4 separate regions of the Homo sapiens genome follow, and regions 2, 3 and 4 are each linked to region 1. The links are contacts of gene promoters, found by promoter capture Hi-C in human tissues and cell types (Jung and others, 2019). All regions are on one chromosome and are shown on one strand. The core of a region is centred on a gene start or on the middle of the fragment in contact, and the rest is flanking DNA. Distances in the headings are between cores, read along the strand shown.

The links. The method cuts DNA at HindIII sites, captures the fragments that hold promoters and counts their contacts. A contact is called where the count stands out against the background at its distance.
Region 2: a fragment that was not itself captured here is called in contact with the fragment with the promoter of ZMAT4 in region 1 in 2 of the 25 tissues and cell types used here (hippocampus and thymus).
Region 3: a contact is called between a fragment that was not itself captured here and the fragment with the promoter of ZMAT4 in region 1, in 4 of the 25 tissues and cell types used here (H1 embryonic stem cells, bladder, heart right ventricle and 1 more).
Region 4: a fragment that was not itself captured here is called in contact with the fragment with the promoter of ZMAT4 in region 1 in 2 of the 25 tissues and cell types used here (dorsolateral prefrontal cortex and pancreas).

What each region holds. Positions count from the first base shown.
Region 1 is chr8:40,894,807-40,900,011 of GRCh38, forward strand. It overlaps ZMAT4 (zinc finger matrin-type 4), which reads right to left and starts at 3,020. Exons shown (of 7, transcript NM_024645.3): 1 at 2,877-3,020. The HindIII fragment of the contact is 9,161 bases long and covers 1-5,205 here.
Region 2 is chr8:40,993,798-40,999,002 of GRCh38, forward strand. No RefSeq gene overlaps it. Among named protein-coding and RNA genes, the nearest start is that of ZMAT4, 99 kb to the left of the region's middle. The HindIII fragment of the contact is 6,921 bases long and covers 1-5,205 here.
Region 3 is chr8:40,972,580-40,977,784 of GRCh38, forward strand. No RefSeq gene overlaps it. Among named protein-coding and RNA genes, the nearest start is that of ZMAT4, 77 kb to the left of the region's middle. The HindIII fragment of the contact is 6,467 bases long and covers 1-5,205 here.
Region 4 is chr8:40,824,630-40,829,834 of GRCh38, forward strand. ZMAT4 (zinc finger matrin-type 4) reads right to left here. Exons shown (of 7, transcript NM_024645.3): 2 at 946-1,051. The coding sequence starts at 1,047. Among named protein-coding and RNA genes, the nearest start is that of ZMAT4, 71 kb to the right of the region's middle. The HindIII fragment of the contact is 5,149 bases long and covers 1-4,581 here.

The DNA of each region.
Region 1 (5,205 bases), core at 1,770-4,269:
TACCAAAACAGCGAACACAATAGGCGTGCTTATTAGATTTCCCCAAAAGCACAAAATTAAATTTTAAAGCAGAAGGCAAAAAGGCTCTTCTCTGATAAAAATTTTAATATGTTTTCAGTCTTATTTCAGGGGACAATTTTCTTTAACAGAAAAATCAGCACAAAATGACAAGATCAAAGTAGGTTGGCAAAAGATTACTTACTGATATGTTTATGATGAAAAGGGATAACAGAAGGATGACAGGGATGGAGGGACAGAGGGGTAAGGAGAGGACTTTTATTTGCCAGGTAACTCACGCAGGGCTTGGAAAAGCAGAAAGACACAACCCCTTCCCACCATAGTGGTTAAAAGAGAGAGAGATCCAGTTTGGCCAATTGGGAAGAGGAGAAAACGCTGGGTCTGTGGATAGTGCTTATCCAGGGTCCTGGCCAAAGCCATCATGTTTGATGAAATGACAAGTAACACATTTAATTTCCTAGGCATTCATCGGTCCTTGCATACACAAACAGGCACGCAGCTTCACAAGGAGTTAATTAGCCTAACACCAGCAATTAGATTCTCCAAACTGGATCGCAGCAGAGGCGCTGGGTCCTGGGTTTCACACCTCACCCCATCCAAGGTGAAGCTGTAATGAGGGTGTTTTGCACTTTGTCAATTATTTTTCAGCTCCTAGGATCCTTTTTTGGTCTAAAGTTGTTATTTTAATGATCTCTGTTCCGAATGGGGAAATACAAGAAAGAGGATTGAGGAGGAGGCAGAGGGAAGGAAAGCGAGCGCTCCAGCGTGTCCCACTTGTACTTTCCAAGGCCCCCTCCGCCCCCTCCCCCCACACTGCCTCTTCCCTCTGTGCATGACTCACCCTTCAGGAGCTGTTTCAAATGCCTTACTTTTAATGTTTCCTATCACGATAGAAATCCAACAGATTGGCATCAATTAAAGGGAACCCCCAGTTTTGCAATCCTCAAACTCAAAAGCATTTTCTGGTTTCCTTACTGCCTTCATGAAAACCAAGGTGCTCTCATGCAAGATCCCCCACGTGCTGGGGGCTGCCCCTCCTGGGCTCCCTGGGGGTCACGTGCCCTGGAGAGGCCACAGAGGACGACGTCCATGACTAACCATGCCCACCGGCTGGGAAAAGTTCAGCTTCCGCTCCAGGCCCCCCAAACACAAAAAGATTATAATTGGCAGGGCTGCAAAATTGTTTTGTTTACTGTCAGATAGGAAGTACAGAAGAGAACGCTGATGGTATTTTGACACCCCCCCCAAAAAAAAAGTGGGCAGGCATTTTTTTAACCATTGTGAATAGAGTTTCAATAATCACAGTTCCCACCCAAAATAGCTGCCTACAGGAGGTGGAGGAGAATCTGTTGTGGTGGTTAAAGAAAATAAGAATTAAAAAGTGGAAGGGATTTGTGGAGCTGGAGAATCAAGACTGTCATCTGCATCTCCGTGGAAGGGTGCCCTGAGGAAGAGGTGTCACTGGAGAATCCCTCCCAGAACATGCAGTCTTGTCAGGACTGGGAATCGAACTCCCCAGCTGCGGGTTTAACGGAAATCAGAGGGATGAAAATCATCTAAACTCTTCAATGCCCCTAGGACTTGGAAGATCACCCCCAGACTATCAGCTTCAGAGTATCCCGCAGGTAGGCAGCGCAACTGGTGAAGTGCGGTGGGCACACAAGCAGAAGCTGCCTTCGCAGAAGAGGAAGAAAGTTCGAGACCAAGCACATCGCCTGCTTCCCCATGGGTCCCTGCTTCCTAGTGACTCACCTACCTAATATCTCCCTTTAGCAGAAGCCAAAGGCGGAGGAGGCAGGGGGAGAAAGGAGTTTCCCAAGGGTCTCAGAGCAAGAGAGGCCCCTGAGGTCTCGCGATTTAGAATGCTCAAGGGTGCTTCTGGGCTGAACCAGCTGCCTGCCGGGGTGAGCTGTTTTACTTCAAGAGCAGTTAGCAGAAGCAGTGTGGATGGTGACTTCAGCACCACCTCTGCCACAAATGCACCTGTGCACCAAAACAACCTGCGCACCTACACGGAGCCACCCCCTCCACCAGCCTCCACCTCCCAGAGCTGCGGGGATGCTCCGGGCCAGGCACCCCTTCTGGGGACAAGGGTGTAAGCTTCACATGGTACCAAACCGAACTCTCTATCCCGTTTTTTGGCTTTTTCTTTTTTTTTTTTTTTCAGGATACCCCAAGCCTGGAAAGTCTTCCAGAGTTTTCGGGAGCTAATTAATTATGTGATTTCCTCTCCTCTGAGAACTGTTTTGCTGGCGTGTCACCAAGTTGTCACGTAGGTGCCCACCAGGTCAAACAGAATAGACCATCCTCACCCACCCACCCCGGGGAATGTCTCCTTCCACCAAATAAAATGAACTGAGACAGGCAGGAAGGAGGCAGAAGTTTGAGGAAGGACTCCAGTTGAAGGTCACAATAGTTTGGGGAAGGCAGATCAAGGTAATACGAAGGGGACAGACCCTATAGCGGAAAACACAAACAACCAATCACGTTTCTCTCGGAACCAGCCTATCCATGATGGGTGCACCAGGAAACAGCACACCCTGGGATCCAACTTCTTTCACCCAGCACACCCGAATCTCCACCCCAGCCCTGCAGACACCCTAGCCTGAGACCAGACCTATTTAGACAGACCTGAGCGCAGCTAATTAGGAGTAGTAAACAAGCCCATTTCTTGCCAGCGCAGAAGTTTCCCAAATTGTCCGCTTGTTTTCCTCCCAACAAAAGACAGTGATTTCCCACCTTTATCACATTCCCTCCCAGAAACTTTTCTTTCTGCAATCCCTCCACCTAGGCTAAACTGCAAAGCCACTGGCAATGGAGACGCAGGCGCTGCACCCCCGGGACGCAGGCAGAGGTACCTTTTCCGCGAGGCAGAGGGGCCGCCGGTGCCCAGAGGCCAGCTGCCCTGCCGAGCAGTAGAGCGAAGCTGTGGGCTGGAGCACGCTGAGGATTACACGTTCCTGTCTCTGCGACCAGACCTTTCGGCAGCTCGGACCAACTGTGCTAGCGATGCACTTAGCAATTATCTGCTGGCTCCGACGCCCCGCCCTCTGCTCTTGCGATTGGCTCTCCAGTCCCGGGCAGGACTGCATTGGTTTCAGCCGACCTCACTCATTGCTTTGGCTCCTACTATTATCTAAGCCATCAAAGGAAATAATTCCATGTTTCATTGACAACCTGTAAGGCTCTCCTCCAGCCCAATGTGGGGGCAGGACCGGGAGGCCAGTGGAGAGAGGGGAGAGGAGTAGGAAAATGTGGGGGAGCGGGGTGGGGGAAGGAGGTGGAGGGGAGAGGAAAAGAAGGAGAAACTGTGGGGGGGTAGGAGGGTAGGAGGGAGAGAGAGAGAGAGATGGAGCTATCAAGCAATCAGATTCTTGCTCTAGCATTTTAACTTCCACAAAACAGAGCCCATAGCAACAATTTTCTGGCTTTATTTTCCCCCTAACTGGTAAATGTTGCTGAGGGCAGAGAGAATAATAACTATGGGGTGTCTGCCGGCATGAGACAGACTCTAGAAAGCCGAGCAAGGTTGAGGGCTGAAGGGATGGAGTAATGCTTTTCACAGGGCCACCCTGGAGGACATGTGAAGGACATGGCAGATTGCTTGGGGAGCATAGTAGGTGCATACCTGGAGTTTATCTATCAGTACTTTATCTCACAGTCCCCCTCATCCCCCAACCTGAGGAGACAATTTTCCTTTGCACCCTGTCCAAAGAGTCTCAGAAGAGCTATTCTTAAAATCCATAAAACTCTGGAGTTTCTCACTGTTCTCACTGGGAGGTCCAGAAAGCCGAGCATTCTAGAGTGAATGATTCTGCTGGGACCCTCACTTTGGTTTATTCTGACATGGCTTAAATTAATCGCTTAGACTTTCATCAACAACCTACGCACGTGAAGAGAGAACATACCCATCAAAGGGTGGGGACAGCTTAAACACTTTTCCTTGTTCACCAAGAAATCATAAAGTCTCACCCTAGTTAAAATGGCTTTTATCCAAAAGACAGGCAATAACAAATGCTGGCAAGGATGTGAAGAAAAGAGAATGAACCCTCCTACATTGCTGGTGAGAATGTGAATTAATGCAGCCACTATGGAGAACAGTATTGGGGTTTGTCAGAAAACTAAATATAGAGCTACCATCTGATCCAGCAATCCCACTGCTAGGTATATACCCCCAAAAAAGAAATCAGTATCTTGAAGAGATTCCTGCACTGCCATGTTTATTGCAGCTCTGTTCACAATAGACAAGATCTGGAAGCAATGTAAGTGTCCATCAACAGATAAATTAGATGAAGAAAATGTGGTACATATGCGTAGTGGAGTACTATTCAGCCATAAAAAGGAATGAGATCCTGTCATTTACAACACCATGGATGGAACTGGAGGACATTCTGTTAAATGAAATAAAACAGGCATGGAAAGACAAACTTCACATGTTTTCATTCATTTGTGAGAGCTAAAAATTAAAACAATTGAACTCATGGACAGAGAGAATAGAATGATGGTTACCAGAGGCTAGGAAGGGGCGGGGGTGGAATGGTTACTAGGTACAAAAATAGAGTTAGATAGAATGAATAGGATCTGGTATTTGACAGCACAACAGGGTTATTACAGTCAGCAAAACATATTGTACATTTTAAAATAACTGAAAGAGTACAATTGGATTGTTTGTAACAAAAGGAAATGCTAAATGCTTGAGGTGCCAGATACCCCATTTACCCTAATGTGATTATTACACATTGCATGCCTGTATCAAAATATCTCGTGTACCCCATAAATATATACACCCACTATGTTCCCATAAAATTAAAAATTTTTAAAAATTAAGAAGAAATCATAAAGCACAAATTTTGACCTTCCCCTCTCCTTAATGTATTTGTCACCATATGGAAAAGACATCACTTGGCAGCTAAATTTTCTTAACTAGGTAAAATATTTATTATTAATGTTTCTAAAATGAAAGAGCTTTTATAAATCAATAAGTACAAGACCTATAACCCAATTCAAAAATGGCAAAGGACAAAATGGGCTGAATTTTTTAAGAGAGAATTATAAAAGCGTCTTTTAAAGAAAGCTTTTAAAATATCAAATTTCAGATGATCCAGAAACTAACCCTTCAGCCTTCTTATCCTAGGATCTCCATGTCTTTGGTGAGGCTCTGGTCCCAGTCCTGCCCTGGCCTCCCCT
Region 2 (5,205 bases), core at 898-3,397, 98 kb after region 1:
GGAATGTATCCTGAGCACACATTCTCTCTAATGCATTAACAAAAGCAATCAATATAAATGACATTTGTCAAGGAACCTAATTCTGTGAACCCACGCCATTCAGGTGCTCCTTTTCCAGGCAAAACCTGCCACCATGTGGAAGACGGTGGCATTGCAGCCCCTTGTCCAAAAATCTCGCTTCCACAAGGACAAAGGGACGTTCTGAGCCAAAACACAAAGTCAAAACACAGCAAAGGGCTCCTCAAAACGATGATCAGCAAGAAACCATTCTCTGTCTACTTTCTCAGCTTGCACCATCAAAGGGATATCAAGAATTCGCCGTTTACTTCGGTTGAAAAATCAAGTCCCGGGCTCAGAGTCCCCCTGCCCTAGATAATTCCTCTTGATAAAAGAACCATAGATTATCAGAAGGGAACTTACAGATTACCCGGTTCCTTCTTCTTCTTCTTTTTTTTTTTTTTTTAACAAACAAAAGGGAAAGGAAAAGCAACAGGATGGTGGGGATGTTTACCACTTCTTGTGCTGTGTTCTCTCTATATATAAGTAATAGACAAAGGAGGTAACGTCTCCGGAGACCCTATCTGGAAGGTAGCAGGGTAGTTCCCTCTGTAGGGGGGCTCTGCCACTGCTGCGATCACCTCCAAGCCCCCTTTCAGATCAGCTAGGAGAGGCACCATAGACAGGCCAGAGTTGTCTCTGAGGAAATGAGGGATGGGCCAGCACAGGCCGTGCAGGACGGAACCCGAGTCCCAAGTGAAAAAGCTGAGGGAAAGGTTCTGCAGGGAACCTGCAGGAAATATGGGAGAACCCTGTGAGGTCAAGTGGACACACTTCTGCACATGCCTCCCGACCACCTGGCTTGGTGGTCCACTTTTGGGGTGGCTGGCACTCTTCCTGCAGTACAAAGAATCAGGGTGGTGGCCCCGAGACAGCCCTGGTGGATGAGGATCAGATGAAAGAGACACAGTCCCGCTCCTGGTTTCTCAGAGCACCCTCAATTTCCTCTCCTACAGCGCATGCCAGTGAGAATTATACTTATCTGTTGCTTCCCCATTTGCCCCCGTAGATTATGTGCCTCTTAAAGGAAGGAACTGTATCTCTTCCATCTCTGCATCCTTAGAGCCTAACACAGACCCTGATAAATAACAGGCACCTAATAAATGTTAAATAAAAGGGAAAAAAAAAAGACAGAGGGAGGAAGGACAAAAGGCCCGAGGGAGGGAGGGAAGCCGAGACTAGACTTATGACTGCTGCAGGAACGTTGCTGATGAATGCAGCAGACCCTCAGGTGATTAATTTTAGAAAGTGTTTGTCCCCAGACACATGACAACAGTTCACCCCACGCTGCTTTCCTTGCCAATCAGCAAGGCAAAACCTCAGGACACTTTCTCTTCCCTGACATAACACCCCTGGTAGGCTGGGCTTTTGTGGTGATTTTGTTCTTTTAATTTTTAACATTATTTTCTAAAAATTTCAAATCTACCAAAAAAAAGAAAAGAAGAGAATAGAAAGGCCAGGCACTGACACACCTGTAATCTCAGCACTTTGTGAGGCTGAGGTGATAGGATAGCTTGAGGCCAGGAGTTCGAGACCAGCCTGGGCAACATGGCAAGACTTCATCTCTACACACTAAGTACAAAAAGTAGCCAGGCATGATGGCACACACTACTCAGGAGGCTGAGGTGAGAGGATCACTTGAGCCCGGGAGGTCAAGGCTGCAGTGAGCTGAGATCATGCCACTGCACTCCAGAACAGGAAACAGAGAAAGACTCCGTCTCAAAAACAAAAAAAAAAATGCAAGACCACCAGCATGTCATTCATGGAAATCCACCCTTTTATTAGGATCAAGTTTATCCTTCCTGTATTTCTTCTTTGCAAAAATTAGCAAATGTACACACACACACACACACACACACGATTTAGTTTCCCCGTGTTTCTTACACAAAAGTTAATAAAACATATGCAACTTTCACATTTTTCTTTTTTCTGCTAATGATATATCTTGAAGAAGACTCGGTGTTCTTTCAGAGAAATCTTCCTCATTTCCATGATGGTGTCAACAGTCTCCCATTATGTGGATAAGCCACAGTTTACTCAACCAGTCTCCTATGGATTGGCTTTTAGTTCATTTCCAACAGTTTGTCATTACAAATAATTCCAGTAATAAATAACTTTATGCGTAGCAGATTGTTTTAAACGTGTGATGAGTAAAGATACATTTTCAGAGAGAATTCTTAGAAGTGGGGTTGCTGGTCAAACTGTAAATGCTATTTTCTGTTTGCTGTTTTCCAATTTCCCGTCCTAGGACCTGTCCTATTTCGCAGGCTCATCAGCCCTGTATGACAGGGCCGGTTTCCCCACAGCCTTGCCAAAGGAGTGCTTTTAAAAAATCTTTCGCATGTTTGCCAAATCCATAGGTGAGAAATGATATCCCCACGCAGTTTTAATTTGCATTCTTCTTTTTACCGTGAAGTTGTATATCTTTTATAAGCTTAGAGGTCACTTATTTATGATTTTTGTGAACTCTTTGTTCATTATTTTTCTCATTTTTCTATCGGGATTTTAATCTTTTATTTCCCTCAATTTCTTTTTTTTCTTTTTCTTTTTTTTTTCGTGTGTGTGTGTGAGAGAGAGAGAAAAAAAAAAAGAGAAAGAGAGAGAGGTTCGTACTCTGTTGCCCAGGCTGGAGTGCAATGATGCAACCACTGCTCACTGCAGCCTGGAACTCCTGCACTCAAGCAACTCTGCCACCTCAGCCTCCTGAGTAGCTGGGACTACATGTATGTGCCACCACACCCAGCTAACTTTTGTATTTTTCGTAGAGATGGTGTCTTGCTATGTTGCCCAAGCTGGTCTGCTAGCCTCAAGTGATCCTCCCCGCTCAACCTCCCAAAGGGTTGGGATTAGAGGCATAAGCCATCATCCCTGTCCATATGATCCATTTTGAGCTAATTTTTGTCGATGGTGTAAGTAAGGGGTCCAACTTTATTCTTCTGCATGTGGATACCCAATTGCCCTAACCCCGTTTGTTTAAAACACTGTTCTTTCCCCCGCTGAATTATCTTAGCATCCTTGTCAAAACTCAATTGACTATAAATTTATGGATTTATTTCTGAGTCCTCAGTTATTTTCTACTAGTCTATGTTTGTCTTTATGCAAGTACTACACTATGGATTACTGTAGTTTTGTATAAGTTTAGAAATTTGGATGCGAGTCTTCCAACTATGTTCTTCTTTTTCAAAATTGTTTTGGCTACTCTGGGTTCCTTGCATATCCATATGAACACGAGGATCACTTCATTAATTTCTGCAAAGAAGCCAGTGTATTTTGAGAGGTATGTGTTGAATCTGTAGATCAATTTAGGTAGTATTGCTATCTTAGCAATATTAAGTTTTCCAATCCACAAACACAGGATATCTTTCTGTTTAATTTCTTTTTTCTTTTTTTTTTTTTTTTTTTGTTTTGAGACAGAATCTTGCTGTGTCCCCCAGGCTGGAGTGCAGTGGCGCAATCTCAGCTCACTGCAAGCTCCGCCTCCCGGGTTCACACCATTCTCCTGCCTCTGCCTCCCAAGTAGTTGGGACTACAGGCGCCCGCCACCATGCCTCGCTAATTTTTGTTGTATTTTTAGTAGAGACGGGGTTTCACCTGTGTTAGCCAGGATGGGCTCAATCTCCTTACCTCGTGATCTGCCTGCCTCTGCCTCCCAAAGTGCTGGGATTACAGGTGTGAGCCACCATGCCCAGACTTCTATTTAATTTCTTTTAAGAATACTTCCTGATTTTCAATGTACAAGCCTTACACACCTTTTGTAAATTTGTTTCTAAGTATTTTATTATTTTCAATGCAACTGTAAATGAAATAGCTGCCTTAATTTCATTTTCAGATTGTTCACGGTCGGTGTATATAAATACAATTGATTTTTGTATGCTCATGTTATTAGTTTTCTATTGCTGCTGTACAAATTACCACTAACTTGGGGCTTTAAATAATGCAAATGTATTATCTGACAGTTCTACAGGTCAAGGGTCCAATATGGTCTCATCGGTGGCAGAAGGGCTACATTTCTCTCTGGAGGCTGTCAGGGAGAAACTCTTGTTTTACCTTTTTCAGTCTCTGGATTCTTGGTTTATGGTCCCTTCCTCCCTCCACATAAGGTCACACCTTGCCATGTTCCATCACTCTGACCTCCTCCACTGCCTCCATCCTCCACTTGGAAGGACCCTCATCTCTACATTGGATCTCCTGATAATCCAAGGCAATCTCCCTATGTTAAAAATCATCTGATTAGCAGTCTTAATTCAACTCTGCAACCTTCAATCCCCTTGGACATGTAACCTGACATATTCACAGGTTCTGAGATTAGGTCATGGACATCTCTGGGACTGGGGGAGCATCATTCTGCCTATGACATTGATCTTGCATCCTGAAACACTGATGAACACATTTATTAGTGCTAATATTTTTTGTGTATTCCTTAGAAATTTTTGTACAAGATCATATCATCTATAAATAGGTTAGTTTTACTTCTTTTTTTTCAATCTGGATAGATTTTATTTCTTTTTCTTGCCTAATAGCTTTGGCTAGAATTTTCATTACAATATTCAAAAGAGGTGATGAGAGTAGACATCTTTGTCTTGTTCCTGATCATAGGAGAAAAGCATTCCATCTTTCACCTTCAAGTATGAGATGAGGTGTGGTTTTTATACAGATGGCCTTTATTTGGTTGTGAAAGTTCCCTCCGTTTCCTAGTTCATTGAGTATTTTCATCCTGAAAATGTGTTGAATTTTGTGAAATAATTTTTCTGTGTCTATTGAGGTGATCAGTGGGATTTGTTCTTTATTCAATATTGATTTATCATTTTCTGTCATGTTTTTGTCTGGTTACAGTTTCAGGATAATACTGGCCTCATTAAATGAGTTGGAAAGAGTTCTCTCCTCTTTTATTTCTTGGAAGACTTTGTGAATGATTGGTGTCAATTTTTAAAAAAATGTTAGGTAGAATTTTCCAGTAATGCCACCTTGACTTGGACTTTTCTTTGCAAGAAGTTTTTAAATTACCAATTCAATCACTTTATTTGTTATAGGTATGTTTGATTCTGTATTCTTTTTTAGGTTAGTTTTGGTCATTTTTGTATTTCTAGAAATTTGTTCATTTACTTCTGGATTATCTAATTTGTTGGCAACAGTTTTTCAAACTGTTTG
Region 3 (5,205 bases), core at 1,156-3,655, 77 kb after region 1:
AACCAAAAAAAACAACTTTCAGGAGGGCCAAAGAATGGTAACATCCACTTATTGCAAGAGAGTTTTGAGAACGTTAGCCAAAACTTTAACAGAAAAACACCCAGGAAAGCTTCGCCAGATAGTCCTTCGCCACGGCAATGCTCTTGCTCATTCCTTTCAATAAACAAGGAGTTTCAATGGGAGATTATTAGGCATCCACCTTAGAGTACTGATTTGGATCCTTCTTTCTTCTTTTTGTTTCCTAATCTTTAAAAATCTGTAAAAGACAGGCATTTTTCTTCAGTTAATTATGTACAAAAAAGACTGCATTGACATGGTTACATTCCCAGGACCCTCAGTTCTTTAGGGATGGACTAAACGGCTGGTATCATCACTTTCAAAAGTGTCTTGACCTTAATGGAGCTTATGTTGAGAAACTAAGTTTATATTTTTAGTCTTATATTATAATTCATTTTTACATAAACTCTTTGAAGTCCCCTAGTGTGTGTGTGTGTGTCTGTGTGTGTGTGTGTGTGTTTGCACGTAGAAACAGAGGAAGATGCATTGGATCTATATATATAGAGAAAGAGACATAATCAAGGAATTGGTTCCCACAATTGCGGGGGCTCACAAGTCTGAAATTCACAGGGCAGACTGGAAACTCTTGGGTAGGAGTTGATGCTGCAGTGTGGAGGCAGAATTTCCTCTTTCTTAGGAAAACCTCAGTTTTGCTTTCATTGGATGAGGCCCACCCACATTATGAAGGACAATCTCCTCTACTTAAAGTCAACTGATTGTCCAAGTTAACCCCATCTATAAAATACCTTTGCAACCCCTAGATTAGTGTTTGGCTTAATAATGAGATACTATAGAAGTCAATTTGAAACATAAAACCGACCATCACAGACTGTATCCAGAAGGGATACAGATCCAGAATAGTCATCGACAACAAATTCATTATGGAAAATTGAGAGTCTAGGCCTATCTACCCACAAATAGCACCCAGACAGGTCAATGATTTCACCTCTTGTCCCTCCTGGTCTACCACTTCCCCTTCTTACTCATTCTAGAGCTATGCCTTGCCACACAGGATTTTGTATTATCATCTTAATTTTACAAATGAGGAGGTGTTCAGAATGGTTAAATATCTGAGTAGCTGACCCCAGGCCACTCACTGGTGCTGATATTTTAGCTCCAGTCGGCCTGACCTCTTCCAAGAGAGCAAGCCCACTTTCAAACAATATAGACTTCCTACACCCCTTCTTCTAACCTGTTAGTTGCCTCTCCTTTGAGCTCTCATGATAGCCCATGAAAATCTGAAACCTAACTCTTACCTCTTTATAATTGTCTATTCAATTCCCTGTCTCCCCCACTGAAATCCAAACTCCTGGTCCTCCCTCTGTGTGCATTGCCTCATCTGATTCTGACATATACATGGTATGAGACACACTTGCTCAGTGTTCCCATTTCCAGAAAAGACTGTAAAAAGCAAGAGGTGAAGGGCCTCAGTGTTCACATTTCCATAAGCACCTGCTCTCTCCGGCCATAGCTTATAGATCCCAGCATAGACACCTGACCCAAGCTGGGTCAGCCAAATCATCTTGTGAGAATCTGAAACTTGAATGGAAGGACACAGTAGTGACAGACAATAAAGAGAGCTGGCTTCCTGGCAGCATCTGAGAGAGTTAGCTCTATAAATCCTGTCGCTTGAGACATCAAAGCTGCCCCATCCCTGCCTTCCTGAGGCTTAGTTATTCAGCAATTCTTTCAATTCAGTCCCCTGAAATCATTAGGGTAAAGGTTAAACTGCTAAAACAAAGGGCCCCCAAATGTAATGGCTCAAACAAACTCCATGTTTATTTATTGCAAATAACAGTCCATCGGGACTGCTCGGTTCCATGCAGTCATTTATCGGCCCTGACCGCCAGCAGCTCTGCCTCCTTCAACACTAAGTGCCTGTCAGAGCAGCTGGGGCTGAAATGATTCCAGCCAGAAACAAGGAGGGGAAAAGATGCAGAAGTGAACCTGCAAAGTCTTTGGGGCAAGGCCTGGAAGTGACACCTAAAACTTCTGCTCATGCTCCCTGGCAGGAACTTGAACATCAGCCACACCTAGCTGCACGAGTGGGGCTGGGCCATGTCCTTGGCTGGGCAGCCACACCCTGCTTCAACTCCGTTGCTATGGAAGAAGGAAGAACAGCTTTGGCTGATGCCAGCAGTCTCCAGCTATGAGACATTTCGAATGAATCTCCCCTCCACCCACCAAATAGTTAAAGTCTATTTCTGTTGCTTACAATCAAAAGAGACTTAGTTAACACAGCAGATGCCCTACACTCCTGATGAACAGAGAGCTCATTGACTGATCATTTAGAATACATCTGTATTTTGGGGACTGGCAGTTCTACACCTGGGGTAGGAGGAATCTGATGGTGTCAGAGATCGACAGAAATGAATTGTAATCCTTCTGGGGCCAGGAAAGAACAGAACTCTTTAGAGTTTCATCAAATCAAGGCCTGGTTCTCAGATGCTGGGGAGACTCTGACCTACAAGGAAAGGCTGCTCTTGGGGACACAGATTCAGGTGGAAGGCGACTCATGCTGAAGCCTTATCAAACTTGCCCAGTACCATCCACAGAGTGGACCATGTGAGGACCCAGCGGCACGCTCAGCGGTCCCACTGTCCCACAGGAATGTCCACATGTAGCTAAGGTATTGGTGCTGGGGCTGTCTCTTTGGAAAGAATCCAAACAGTTCTAAAAGGTAGGTCAGTGCCTAGGTACCCATGAGCACTGCCCTCCCCCAGACCAGCCCTAACTCCTACAGACACAGAGCCCTGAAAAACGCTTCCTTGTGCTTTGAGTACTTTTTTTTTTTTTTTGATACAGAGTCTCTCTCTGTCACCCAGGCCTGAGTTCAGTGGCTCAATCTTGGCTCAATGAAACCTCCACCTCCCAGGTTCAAGCAATTCTCCTGCCTCAGCCTCCCAAGTAGCTGGGATTACAGATGCATGCCACCACACCAGGCTAATTTTTGTATTTTTAGTAAAGATGGGGTTTCACCATGTTGGCCAGGCTGGTCTCAAACTCCTGACCTCAAGTGATCTGCCCACCTTGGCCTCCCAAAGTGCTGGGATTACAGGCATGAGCCATCGTGCCCGGCCCTCCTTGTGCTCTCGAAATGGAGGTTTCCACAGTCATCTGGTGAGCTATTAAGCTGCTTGTGTTAGCTGTTCTTATGTTGCTATAAAGAAATACCTGAGGCTGGGTAATTTATAAAGAAAAGAGGTTTAATTGGCTCACAGTTCTGCATGCTGTACAAGCATGGCGGTGGCACCTGCTTGGCTTCTGGAAAGGCCTCTGGGAGTTTGTACTCATGACAGAAGGTGAAAAGGGAGCCACCACCTCACATGGTGAAAGCGAGAGCAAAAGAGTGTGAGTCGGTGGGCTAGGGGGTGCCAAACACATTTAAACAAGCAGATCGCGCCAGAATTCACTCACTATCATGGAAACAGCACAAAGCCATGGGGGATTTGCCTCCATGACCCAAACACCTACCACTGGACCCCACCTCCAACACTGGGGATTATATTTCAACATGAGATTTGGGCAGGGAAAAATATCCAAACTATATCACTGCCCCCAACTATGACTGAACCCTCCAGGTGCCGAGGGACCCAGAACCCAAGAAGCCTGGGTGGGTCCAGGGATAAACCAATGGTGGCCACATGCCCAGAGGGGCTGCCAGCCTCCTGCTCCCCTCGGGGTCACCGCCTCCTGCCCCTCACTAGCTCCCTTTTGGAAGAAGCACCAGGTAGCTCCTGTCTATGACAAAGGGGGTTGTTCATAGCTCAAATAGTATGGAAGGGGAATTTTCTTAAATTACATACAAGAAAATGAGAAGGAAAAGTTCCATGTGGCCAAAGGAATGTGACTCTGTGGGGAGGTGAGAGGACATTGAAAGGCTTGCTTACTAATTTTCCAGATGTGCATTGCATTTTCTCATTCATCTGTGTTTTCACCTACAGGATCTCATTTGATTCTCAAAGCAACCCTGTGAGGTCAGCCAGGCAGGTGTTTTGATTCCATTATATGAATGAGAAAACCGAAAGTTTTTAATATTATGTTATATTATATTATATTCTTATATTTCTTATGTCAATTTCTTAACTCCAAGCCTGATGACTTTCCCTTTGGAAATAAGACATCGTTGTGAGCACTTACTACATCCTAGGTGTTCTGCCTTCCCTTAAGCTATTGTGTCCAAGCCTCACATCATCTAAGTCAACTGAATGAGGGAAGTGCTCTTATTATTCCCATTTGACAGGTGAGAAGACAGACTCAGAAACACTGGGAGGAAGATTTCCCACAAACTGATATAAAATCTGAATTTCACAACATTATAATATCTTAAGGCTACTTGATTTCCAGAGGTGATCAAATTTCACCTGTCTTGAGCCAAAAATGCTCATAGGGATTCAAGAAGATTCACCACCTCCCCTGGCTACTCCACAAGGCCCCTCACAGATTCTAAATTTTAATTTCAGGAACCTCTATCTTTGATAGAGACACAACTATTAAAACCTGGAAAATCCCCCCAAAATTAGTCTTTAACAAGGGACTCCAGATTGACCCAAACCACATTCTTCCCAGGTCTACTCAGCAACTCAGGGACACTGTGCACATTTTGCACTAACAAGAATTCCATAACTCTAAATTAAGTTTAAGGTAAGACAAAGCATGGATCGATTGCTTTCCAAGTGGGATGCTCTCTCCTGGCATCCAGTGATCTCTGCAAGAGGCCCCTGCTTGTGCTTCAACAATGGCAGGAGTGCCAAATTCCAGGTGTATTTCCTGGGACTCAAGCCACATATCCAAGGATTCTCAAACCTGTGAGTGGATTGAGAGCAAACCTCAGGTGGCACATATTCCATTTCCCTTCAGAGAAGTCTAAGTGCTCCTGTCTGAAACCAGGCAGTTCCTTCTGAGCACCTCTTTCAAATAAATCCCTGGTCCCAGTGAACATTAGCCCAGGGTGAATCATTGTCAAGTACCCCAGCCAGGAGAGCACTTTCTATCTTGGAAAGGGAATAAAAAAAAAAATCTCAAAGATAATAAGAGCTGCCTAAGAAGATGTTTGTTCATTTAGTCCTGCCAGTCATGAGCTTCATTTGTCAGGGTTTTCAATTAGATCCCATCACACACAGTCCCCTCTCCAGTCAGCCCCAGACA
Region 4 (5,205 bases), core at 757-3,256, 71 kb before region 1:
AAAGAAAGGAAGAAGGGAAGGAAGGAAGGGAAGGAAAGGAAAGAAAGAAAGCAAAGAAAAATAAAGAAAGAAAGAAAAGAAAGAATGAAAGAAAGAAAGAAAGAAGAAAGAAAGAAAAGAAAAAAAGAAAGAAAGAAAAGAAAGAAAGAAAATAAAGAAATTCATGTTCCTACTAGTATATGTTCTTTTGAAAACAGAACATGCCCTAGTAGCTCTCAGCATCCTGGGATCTCCCAGTTCTCTTTACTCAATCCACAGCACCTCATTTCTTCCTCATCCTCGGACACAGGCCAACCTCTCTCCTCTCATCCTCTGCTCCCAATAGAGGATCAAAAAGTGGTCTGTTGCTCCCCGATTCTAAACAGCCAGTGCCACTAATTTATGACTTTGAAGAGTATTTGCACTTTAAGACTTGGTTATAACTCTGCAGAAGGCATCTTGATTGTGATAAGCACATGTTGGGTATTGGCCATCAGGTGGAAGAAATTTTCAGGGAGGAAGTGGCCCACGGCTGCTTCATTACTTGCTGCTGTCTTTCCCTACAGTGTTTAACAAAGGTCTTCTGAGCTTATCTTTGGGGTCATAGGTGGAGACAGGAGCTGGCACAATGCATTGCACCCTGGATCCCTGAAAGGAACTTTGTGGATGCACAGTGACAGATTTAACAAGTAGAGAAAGCCCAAGCAGAGTCTCCAGGGGCTGAGATACAAATTTTAAAAAAAGGATCTGGGAAGCAGCCAGAGTCTGACAATGACATCCCCAACCCTCACTCCCAACCCCACACATATACACTTGTCCTGGCCTTGACCTCAGACTGTACAGGCTCAAGTCCTGTGGTTCTTCAAATGTGCCCCAAGTCCAGAAGGAGGATCCTGGAGTCCTACAACAATGACCCGGGCTGCTCCCTCCTACATTTGCAAACAGAGTGGGAAACGCTGTCCTTACCTCGTAGTGGGCCACACGCTGCGATTCGGAGATCAGCTGTGCACTGCACACCTTGCAGTAACTGTCTGTGAATAAATCCTGATCAATATCGGAGGACTTCATCAGGCTACAAGAGAATCAACAGAAAAGAAAAATGAGTCCACTGCTTTGATGTTTATGCAAGATATTAACCGTATGAAAAGCCAGGATCACAGTAACAGGTCTGACAATGGTGACAGAGGGGTGGATCTCCCTACACTCTTGACGTTATCATATCGATTAACCATAATATGTGCATAGGTTATAGTTTTCTCACAAATGCCCAACAGAGTTGCTTTACCCTAAAAAATAGAAATCCAGCTATAGTTTTTCTGTTGAACAAGCCAGACTTATATCTAATGCCTTGTCAAGAGTTTATGTGAGGGCAGGGCACCGTGGCTCACGCCTGTAGTCCCAGTGTTTTGGGAGGCCGAGGTGGGAGCATCACTTGAGGCCAAGAGTTTGAGACCAGCATGGGCAACATAGAGAGATTCTGTCTCTACAAAACTAAAAATTCTTAAAAAGGATTTATGTGAGATATTTTTGCATGTTATATATATTTATATGTTAATTAAATGTTGTAAGCACCTAATATATCCAACAATAGAAAGTGGGTTAAATGAACTTTGATATATCATCACACTAGAAAACTATGTGGCTTCCAAATCCAAATTCAGATAAATTATTCTTTCAGGGAACATTAGGAAAAGGTTTACCATTAACAAAAGAGATTTTTAAGTACATATAGCATTATACAAAATTTGTTTTAAAATATGTATAGATGCATTAAAAAACATTCCAGGAAATTATAACATAATTTTAATAGCACTTATCTTTGGGAAATGACAGAAAATTGCTTTTGCAATTTTCTTCATTTTTAAATTTTTCTTCAACAATCACATATTACTTTTGTAGTCAAGGAAGAAGTTAGCTTTGTCTAGAGCCTTTAAGCGGTATAAAATCTAGTTTAGAGTTAAATAGTTGCACTTAGAAAATTAAAAAATACAATCAGACTAAACTATAACTTTCCTTGTAACCCCATACTTTGCAACACGGGGAGACCTCACTATTCAAGCTGACTCTTCTCCATTTAGGGTGGTTGAATTCATAAAGGCCACCTCCACCACCGCACACCACAAATGATCCCACAAAGTAAATAAACATATTCTCAAATTCCAAACCCGGAATCAAAATGCAGCCAAGGATCTCAAGCTTCTGAAAGCGATCTGTCGGAAACGGATCTTATGGCAGCTGAAGGATCTCATGTTACCACCCTGGAAACACACCCCAGTGCATCCGATTCCTTCACCCAGCCCACAAACTCCACTTGTTTCACCTCCTACCCGTCAAGCAAGAAGTAAAGACCATGGCAGACAGCATGCTGTATGAAGAGGCAAAAGAATCTCAGACAACAGCAATATGGTAGGCACTTTGGACTTTATCTTATTTCACCACCATCATCTTACCTATAAGACAGTCCAAAGTTACATTGCTAGTCATTTGCATAGCCAAAAATATGGCCTCGCTTGCATGATTCCAATTTCCACAAGCTAGATCCATCCTAGGTCTGATGCTACCACATGGCATTGGATGAGTCACTCAATGCTCCATACCTCAGTTTCCCCCATATAAAAATTGAGATAATAATATTTACCATGCCTTCTAAGAAAGTGATAGTGAAGATCACAGGGAGAAATATATGAGAAAGTGCTATATCAACCGTAAAACTCTCTGCATTTGAAAGGGATCAGTAGTATATTTTTAATAACATCCTGATGTTGGCAAGATGTTGGCCAAGTCCTGAACAATGCAACAGTGAACTGTGTAAAGTAAAGTGAACTGTGGTTCACTTTAGGTGATTTTTGAAATGATCTAAATAACCAGACCACATTCATAAAGTATCTGCCTGAAATAAAAGGATGTCTGCCTCAAGTACTCCAATCTCACGTTCTGTCCTTGGCCCTGGCTCTAGTGGCTCATTCAGGGCATTTGTCTTCAGCAATTCAAAAGGATTCACAGTTTCTGCTCCTAAGAGACAATAATGCCTGTGGTTTTTCAATGCCCCCAGCAAGCAATAGTTATGCCAGGTACCACTGTGTCTCATGGTTGATATGGGCCTGTTATTTCAAAAAGGACCACACCTGGCAGGTGGCCCAATTGGCCTGGAGTCTAGCACCTGCTGTGCCTGCAGGTTCACCTCCTCCCCCACAAGGCAACCTGTTCCAGAGAGGGCAGAAGCTCTAGTTGTTAAGTTTTTCTTAGGTTGAATTAAAATCTGTCCCACCGTAGTTTTCATTCAGTGATTCTGTCATTAGGTACAACATGGCACCACACCAGTCTCCATTTTTTCATGAGATATCCTCCCTTGAGTGTCTGAAGATAACACTCTTCTATCTACTTCCAAGTCCTACCCAGCCTCATCATCTTGCCCTGAGTCTATTTCATTATAGTCCATCTTCAAAAGCAAGACCAAGAACAGAATGCGGGCACTCCGGAGATGGTCTACATGAGGCAAAGGATTGCCAATTCCAGTGCCAACCCACAATATCATAGTCATTTGTAATGGTCTCCATTCATGTCCCAGAATGTAAATGAAGAAAAGATGTTTTGATGATGAAGAACTGGAGTACAACATTTTGAAATGTCTAATGGGAAAAGAAAACTTACTAAGGTATATTTTTTAAGCCAAGCTCCTATAAGTGGTTGTGTTTAAATATTATCATGTTCCCTGCTATTTCTAATGAAGAAGCACACAAAAATAGATTCACGGATGACCTGGTTAATAGGAATCTCCAAACTCACTGCACACTCCTTCCTCATTATACAACCAACTGCAAAAATCAAACACTGTGAAAGGATATTCAAGGTACGTGTCGGACCAAGCAGGCCCGTAGGAGTCTGAGTCTCGGTAAAGCAGCTGTGCAACAGAAATAGCTTTAAAGGCAGAATATAAAATGTGTATACTAAAAAAAATTCAAGGGAAGAGAAAATATCTTGGCTTTTTCCACTGTTTTATATAAGAATATTGATTTGAACAAGTCCATATGCAATTTTTTAAAAGGCAATAAGGACCCCTCTGAAATCGATGACACCTGAGTGGAATATCTGAACAAGTCACATTCCAGTGGGAGGCAATTAGTGGACAAGTGTCAGCCTGTTTTGTACATGAGGGCTTTCCCTCCAGAAAAAGAGAGCGCAGTCCATGTAGGTCACTTTAGACAACCAGAGGGTCCGATTTATCATGCAGAGACTGGAATTCCCAAGAAGGGAGGATGTCACTTGCTCCCCTCCCCTGGTTTGTTTAGAAGAGGATTTTAGCTTCACTGGCCTTCACTGTCTTCACCAAGACAGCTGGTAAGAAAAAGGAAAAAAAAAAAAAATTTCCAGTTTTTTAGCCTTGTCCATGGTCCTGAGGAGCCCACGCGCTACTCCAGCAACTGGAGTAGAGACAGAGCCACTGATCACTTACTGGTCAGTCCAATCTGTCCCATCAGATCCAGTGTCTAGTGACCTCCCCCTGGAAACATTCGTATTGTGCTGTGCCATGAGGCCTTGGGACATTCTGAGGAGGGATACAAGAGTAGGGGAAGACAGGAATTTGATTTCCTGGGTCTGAAACAGATCTGAAAGAAAGCACCATCTGTACTCCCAGGCCCAGCACATTGCAAAGGCACATTGCAAAGGCAGGCACATTGCCAAGCAACCACTGGAGGATCTAAATGACCTCTCATCACTCTCCAGTACTCACAGAGGTTGGCACTATCTGCAATGGAGGTAAGAGGCCTCCACCCGATGTGGACGCAGTACTAGAGCAGGGAGTCTGGTCACATTTTCACGTGCTGTCCGGGGGTCTGAGTTCCTACAGATCCATGTGTATAGCAGTGATGGTGTGAGGCTCAGAGGTGCATCTAGGTATCAGGAATAAAGGAAGCATCAAGGAGGAGTGCTTTTATTGATTCTATAATGGTTTGGGGAAATCTAGCATGAGTGAGGCTCAGGGATAACAGAGGCACAACCCCTGTCTTCCAAATCTTGCTGAGCTACTGAGTAAGAAGAGACATACACACACCAACACCTAAGGCACAGGCAACTAATTCCAACAGAACTTGGGGGATGGAAAGTGATATAGGATTTGAGAAGACAGAAAGGATTATCAAGAATCTCTTCAAGAAAGTTCTACTAGGGTTGAAAATTTGAGGATGGATAGGATTAGAGTGGAGAGAAATGAGTTCCAACTCAGAA